Linked DNA regions of Homo sapiens: region 1 is linked to region 2. Evidence: promoter capture Hi-C in 16 types of primary human blood cells and fetal thymus (Javierre and others, 2016). All regions are on one chromosome and are shown on one strand. Each heading gives the region's core, a stretch centred on a gene start or on the middle of the fragment in contact. The rest is flanking DNA. Distances are from core to core; before and after follow the strand shown.

What was found. Contacts are between HindIII fragments. The CHiCAGO score rates a contact against its expected background, and 5 or more counts as called.
Region 1: a contact is called between a fragment that was not itself captured here and the fragment with the promoter of SLC27A3 in region 2, in 1 of 17 cell types (activated CD4 T cells). The highest score is 5.6, in activated CD4 T cells.

The regions. Positions count from the first base shown.
Region 1 is chr1:154,113,392-154,116,871 of GRCh38, forward strand. The region is part of intron 12 of NUP210L (nucleoporin 210 like); the gene reads right to left. Among named protein-coding and RNA genes, the nearest start is that of MIR5698, 11 kb to the left of the region's middle. The HindIII fragment of the contact is 216 bases long and covers 1,677-1,892 here.
Region 2 is chr1:153,773,599-153,776,715 of GRCh38, forward strand. SLC27A3 (solute carrier family 27 member 3) reads left to right here and starts at 1,809. Exons shown (of 10, transcript NM_024330.4): 1 at 1,809-2,566; 2 at 2,920-3,117. The coding sequence starts at 1,900. It overlaps INTS3 (integrator complex subunit 3), which reads left to right. Exons shown (of 30, transcript NM_023015.5): 30 at 1-1,210. RefSeq lists an enhancer at 2,210-2,876 and a silencer at 2,245-2,436. The HindIII fragment of the contact is 7,576 bases long and covers 1-3,117 here.

The sequences.
Region 1 (3,480 bases), core at 535-3,034, 340 kb after region 2:
CTCTTTAAAGCATCTAACTCCATGTAGGAGGGGTCTGGCAAACTACGGCCTGTATACAACCTGTTTTTGTACAATGAGCTAAGAACAGTTTTTACATTTTTAAAAGGTTGTAAAATAAAACAATAACAACCACAAAAAAGAATATGAGATAGTAACTATATGTGGCCTGTAAAGACTAATGTATTAGGCCAGGCGTGGTGGCTCACGCCTGTAATCCCAGCATTTTGGGAGGCCAAGGCGGGCAGATCACAAGGTCAGGAATTCAACACCAGCCTGGCCAATATGGTGAAACCCCGTCTCTACTAAAAATACAAAAATTAGCCAGGCGTGGTGGCACGTGCCTGTAATTCCAGCTACTCAGGAGGCTGAAGCAGGAGAATCGCTTGAACCTGGGAGGTGGAGGTTGCAGTGAGCTGAGATCTGGCCACGGCACTCCAGCTTGGACAACAGAGCAAGACTCCATCTCAAAAAAAAAAAAAAAAAAAAAAGCCGGGTGTGGTGGCTCACACCTGTAATCCCAGCACTTTGGGAGGCCGAGTTCAGAAGTTCAAGACCAGCCTGGCTAACATGGTGAAACCCCGTCTCTACTAAAAATACAAAAATTAGCTGGGCGTGGTAGTGGGCGCCTGTAATCCCAGCTACTCGGGAGGCTGAGGCAGGAGAATTGCTTGAACTCGAGAGGCGGAGGTTGCAATGAGCCAAGATCGCACCACTGCACTCCAGCCTGGGCAACAGCGCAAGACTCCATCTCAAAAAAAAAAAAAAAATTTGCCAGGCGTAGTGGTACACGTCCCAGCTACTTGGAAGGCTGAGGTGGGAGGATTGCTTGAGGTCAAGGCTGGAGTAGGCCACGATTGTGCCACTGCATTGAACCTGGGCAACAGAAACCCCATCTCAAAAAAATTAATAAATAAAATAAAATAAAATCTTTTATTTTGTCATTTTTGCCACTTTCTATGTTTCTTCTGCTAGTTCCTCTTCCTATGTTTCTTAAAGTGACATTTACATTACACAGGATCCATATGTTCTTCCTGGGAAAACTTATCCAGTCCCAAAGCTTCAGTGACTAACCATATGCAAACTCTCCAGCCCTAATCTTTCAGTTGAACTTCAGACCCCTATTTCCAATTAAAAACATCCACTTAGATGCTCCATAGGTGAATTACGCTAAATGTATCCAAAACTAAATTCATCATCTTTTCCATTTTTTTGTATTTTCTTTTCTTTTTTTAAAGACAGGGTCTCACTCTTGCCTAAGCTAGAGTGCAGAGGCGTGATCATAGTTCACCGCAACCTCAAACTCCTGGCCTCAAGCGACCCTCCTGCCTCAGTAGCTAGGACTACAGGCATGTGCCACTATGCCTGGTTAATTTTTTTTTTAAGAGATGGGGGGGGGGGTCTTGCTTTGTTGTCCAGGCTGGTCTCGAACTCCTGGCCTCAAGCCACTCTCCTGCCTTGGCCACTCAAAGGTGTTGGGATTACATGTGTAAGCCACCACTCCCAGCCTCTTGTATTTTCTATCCACCCCGCTGGCAAAGTGAGAAACCTCCACATCATCTCTGTGGCTTTAAATGTTTAACTCTTCCCTGCTCAATCAAATCGGATTGATTTACCTGTTAAAAAAGATTATCATTTGGTCCATTTCCTGCTATTCTCAATACCATCTCACTAGTTCAAGCTTAACTGAAGTTTTTGCCTTCACTTTCTCCCTTCAATCCATTCTAATCTACTAGTCTATAGCACCAGCAAGTATCTTTTGTTTTTTAGTATAATGGCTGTTATTGTCTGATTATAAAAATAATTAGATATCTTTCAGAACAGAGACCTTACCATACCATTGACCTGTTAAAAGCCTGTATTGGTTCCCCATTGTCTACAGCAAGGATTGGCAAAGCTTTCTGTAAAGAGCTAGATAGTAAACATTTTAGACTTATTGAGGCTACACAGTCTCCGTGGTAACTACTAACTCAGCAGCTGTGGCTTGAAAGCAGCCACAGACAATATGTAAATGAATGGGAGTAGCTGTGTTCTGAAAAAAGTTTATTTACCAAATAAGGAAGCACTCTAAATTTGACCTTTGGGCCTTACTTTTATTCCATCCTCCAAAAGTCTTATTGAAGTTCCCACCTCTTTCATAATAGTCTCTGATAGTCCCATACACAAGGATTTCTCTTTTACAAACTAATAGCACTTACTGTACAATTCAAGTAGTTCTCAGTCATACAGGGCTTTAAATATCTCACATATCATTTTCTTAAAATGTTATTTGACTTTTTTCATGTCAATATATCTTCCTAGTTATACTTTAAATACTTTAAGATAGGGATCATGTGTTATGTATCTCTGAATGTCCAATAATACCTACGAGATAATAAATGTTCACTGAGTGATGGCAAACTATTAAGTCCTATAGAGAACAGCAACATATATTAAAAATGGGGCTGGGGCTGGGCGCAGTGGCTCATGCCTGTAATCCCACCACTATGGAAGGCCGGGGTGGGCGGATCACTTGAGGTCAGGAGTTCGAGATCAGCCTGGCCATAATGGTGAAACCCCGTCTCTACTGAAAATACAAAAAATTAGGCCGGGCGCGGTGACTCATGCCTGTAATCCCAGCACTTTGGGAGGCCGAGGCAGGTGGATCACGAGGTCAGGAGATAGAGACCAGCCTGGCTAGCACGGTGAAACCCCATCTCTATTAAAAATACAAAAAATTGGCCGGGCATGGTGGCACATGCCTGTAGTCCCAGCTACTCGGGAGGCTGAGGCAGGAGAATGGGGTGAACCTGGGAGGCAGAGCTTGCAGTGAGCCAAGATCGCACCACTGCACTCCAGCCTTGGCGACAGAAAGAGACTCCATCTCAAAAAAAAAAAAAAAAAAAATTAGTTGGGTGTGTTGGCGGGTGCCTGTAGTCCCAGCTACTCAGGAGGCTGAGGCAGGAGAATTGCTTGAACCTGAAAGGCGGAGGTTGCAGTGAGCTGAGATCACGCCACTGCACTCCAGCCTGGGCAACAGAGTGAGACTCCATCTCAGGGAAAAAAAAAAAAAAAATGGGGCTGGGTACAGTGGCTCACACCTGTAATCCTTGCACTTTGGAAGGCCAAGACAGGAGGATCACTTGAGGCCAGGAGTTTGGGACCAGCCTGGGCAACACAGTGAGACCCTGTCTCTACAAAAATAATAAATTAACTGTGTGGGGTGGTGCATATCTGTAGTCCTGGCTACTTGGGAGGCCAAGGCGGGAGAACTGCTTGAGTCCTAGGAGTTTGAGGCTGCAGTGAGCTATGATCATGCCATTGCCCTCCAGTCTGGGCAACAGAGCAAGACTCAGTCTCAAAAAAAGAAAAAATAAAGGAGAAAAATAGGAAAATGGTTACATAATATACTAAAAAAGAGTTTTCAATCTTTTAGTAACAGATTGACAAACCAAAATATGACACTAGAGATAAAGTTACTATAAAGGCCATTTAAAAATCATA
Region 2 (3,117 bases), core at 559-3,058:
TCCCAAAGAGCCATTTCAACAGAGAAGGGAAATGACAAAGGGGCAGCTGGCCAGATAAGCTAGGATGAGAGCAGAGACTCAGTGTGTGGGTGTCCCTTCCTGCTTCCCCTTCAGGTCTTGGTTTGTTCTGAAGGGACGTTTTATAGTCACTATCCACATGCCAGTGTGAAATGGGCATCTATGACGTGGTCAGGGTGTCCATTCCTAATCATGGGGCAGATGCCACAAGCATTCAGAAAGGAGTCTGAAAGGGTGGCCACAGCCCCACGTGGTGTGCCCTGGAGGCTTAGGTTGGTCTGAGGTTGGCACCTCAATCTACACCAGAGCCCAGGGAGTCCCAGAGGCAAGTTTCACAGAATTGTCAAATGATCCCATTTCCTTGAGTCTGTTTTTTTTTTTGTTTTTTTTTGTTTTTTTTTTGGCAGAGATAATCGTGTCTTAAAAGTTGTTTTTAAATGACAATAAAACAAGCCAGAATGTCTTTTGTGCTGGAGTGTCTGCTGGCATTTGCCCCGTGCATGTATAGCTTGGTCTTGATTTGATTGGCACCCCTACTTGTAACCGCAGAACATCCCCCTTTCCCTTCCTGTTCTGCCCCCACTTTTGTCTAGAGCAGAAGGGACTTGGCTTTGGCCACTACCCATCCTTCCTGCTGCCACTGGAGGTGGGAGCCAGGCACTGATCTGTCTATGCAGAACCATCCCCCGTAGGATGAGGCCTGTCCTTACTCATTTCTCAAGAAACAAGATGCTTCCAAAAGGTCTGTCATCCTCCAGTTGAAGTCTGTGTGCCTACCAAGAATGGCCGGAGGACTCGCTGCTTGACGGGAGGGATGCTCCAGCTTGGTCTCCAGGGACAACTGTACCTGGAGATAAAGTCTGGATACCAGGGAGGGACAGAGATGCTCTTCCTTCCACAGTGTGGCCACTTGCTGGGCCATGTGAACCAGCAGAGGAGAGTTCCTTGGCTATGCTGTTGTTCCCCCGCTGTCCAGGGAGAATGGAGGTGGACTGAGGAGTGAAGTTTGGGCGAACTGCACAGAGCTGCTCCTCTTCACCCCGAAAATTTGTCTTTTTACAGAATCCAGGTTCTCCCCTCCCTCATCACTGCTGTTGCTTCCTTTGAAAGTCTAAACCACTGGAGGCTTCTTTTTCCTTCCTCTCTCCTTCCCCAGTTTCCTCTGTCCCAATTAAAACCAGGATGGAGAGCATTTGCTGGCTGGCCCCAATTATTGTACCCTTGCCCAAAGGGAGGGGCCTCTGTCGTGACCCCTCAGAAATCTGGCAGTCTGGGTTTCCACCTTTCCCCTATTTAACTCTCAGCCCCCACCCATCCCCTGGGGTTGCGGCTGGCAGGCCGGGACTTGCAGAACCAAATGGGCCAGGGGCCAAGTTCATTCTTTTGGGAGAGAGCAATGGTACCTTCCCTTAACGGGAAAACGAGAAATATTGAGGGGAAGATGGACTGCGATCCAAACGCCCTGGCTCTCAGGCCTGGACTCTAGGGCTTAGCCAGATGCCTAAACCGCCCAAGCCGAGAAACAACTTAGAAGACAGACATAACCCTGGGATTCAGGGAAGGCGCGAGCACCGCCCAGGACCTGGTAGGGTGCGAGCCGCGAGCAGTCCGGGAGGGAGCGCGCCTAGGGCGGAGCGTAGGCTGTGGGGGGAGGGCTGGGAGTCCGGGGCCGCCCCACACCCGCACTCCTCCCGGGTTTCTGCTCTCCGCCCGTGTGGAGTGGTGGGGGCCTGGGTGGGAATGGGCGTGTGCCAGCGCACGCGCGCTCCCTGGAAGGAGAAGTCTCAGCTAGAACGAGCGGCCCTAGGTTTTCGGAAGGGAGGATCAGGGATGTTTGCGAGCGGCTGGAACCAGACGGTGCCGATAGAGGAAGCGGGCTCCATGGCTGCCCTCCTGCTGCTGCCCCTGCTGCTGTTGCTACCGCTGCTGCTGCTGAAGCTACACCTCTGGCCGCAGTTGCGCTGGCTTCCGGCGGACTTGGCCTTTGCGGTGCGAGCTCTGTGCTGCAAAAGGGCTCTTCGAGCTCGCGCCCTGGCCGCGGCTGCCGCCGACCCGGAAGGTCCCGAGGGGGGCTGCAGCCTGGCCTGGCGCCTCGCGGAACTGGCCCAGCAGCGCGCCGCGCACACCTTTCTCATTCACGGCTCGCGGCGCTTTAGCTACTCAGAGGCGGAGCGCGAGAGTAACAGGGCTGCACGCGCCTTCCTACGTGCGCTAGGCTGGGACTGGGGACCCGACGGCGGCGACAGCGGCGAGGGGAGCGCTGGAGAAGGCGAGCGGGCAGCGCCGGGAGCCGGAGATGCAGCGGCCGGAAGCGGCGCGGAGTTTGCCGGAGGGGACGGTGCCGCCAGAGGTGGAGGAGCCGCCGCCCCTCTGTCACCTGGAGCAACTGTGGCGCTGCTCCTCCCCGCTGGCCCAGAGTTTCTGTGGCTCTGGTTCGGGCTGGCCAAGGCCGGCCTGCGCACTGCCTTTGTGCCCACCGCCCTGCGCCGGGGCCCCCTGCTGCACTGCCTCCGCAGCTGCGGCGCGCGCGCGCTGGTGCTGGCGCCAGGTAAGGCTGGAGCTCCGAACTGACTAAGGCGGGGCCAGCCACAGAAGGGGGCGTGTCGGAGACCACAGAAAGGCTTGGTCTCATCCCTGGGCCTGGGAAGAAGCCGACTATCCCTTGGGGTTCGAAAGTGGGTGGAGATAGGAGTCTCCGGGTTTGAGAAGGGATGAGGCTGAATCTTTGGTGCCCCAAGGATCCCCAAGGAGTCGAGTTCCAGGCCTCAGACCCAAGATGGAATGTCCATACCCTTCACCCTCATCCAAGAGCAGTGTGGGCTGGGATAGGGAGGGGACATGGGTCATAGGCTCTTCTAGGTAGAGCCAGGGCCCCGGCGTTGTGCTTTCCCACCCTTCTAGAGTTTCTGGAGTCCCTGGAGCCGGACCTGCCCGCCCTGAGAGCCATGGGGCTCCACCTGTGGGCTGCAGGCCCAGGAACCCACCCTGCTGGAATTAGCGATTTGCTGGCTGAAGTGTCCGCTGAAGTGGATGGGCCAGTGCCAGGATACCTCTCTTCCCCCCAGAGCATAACAGACACGTGCCTGTACATCTTCACCT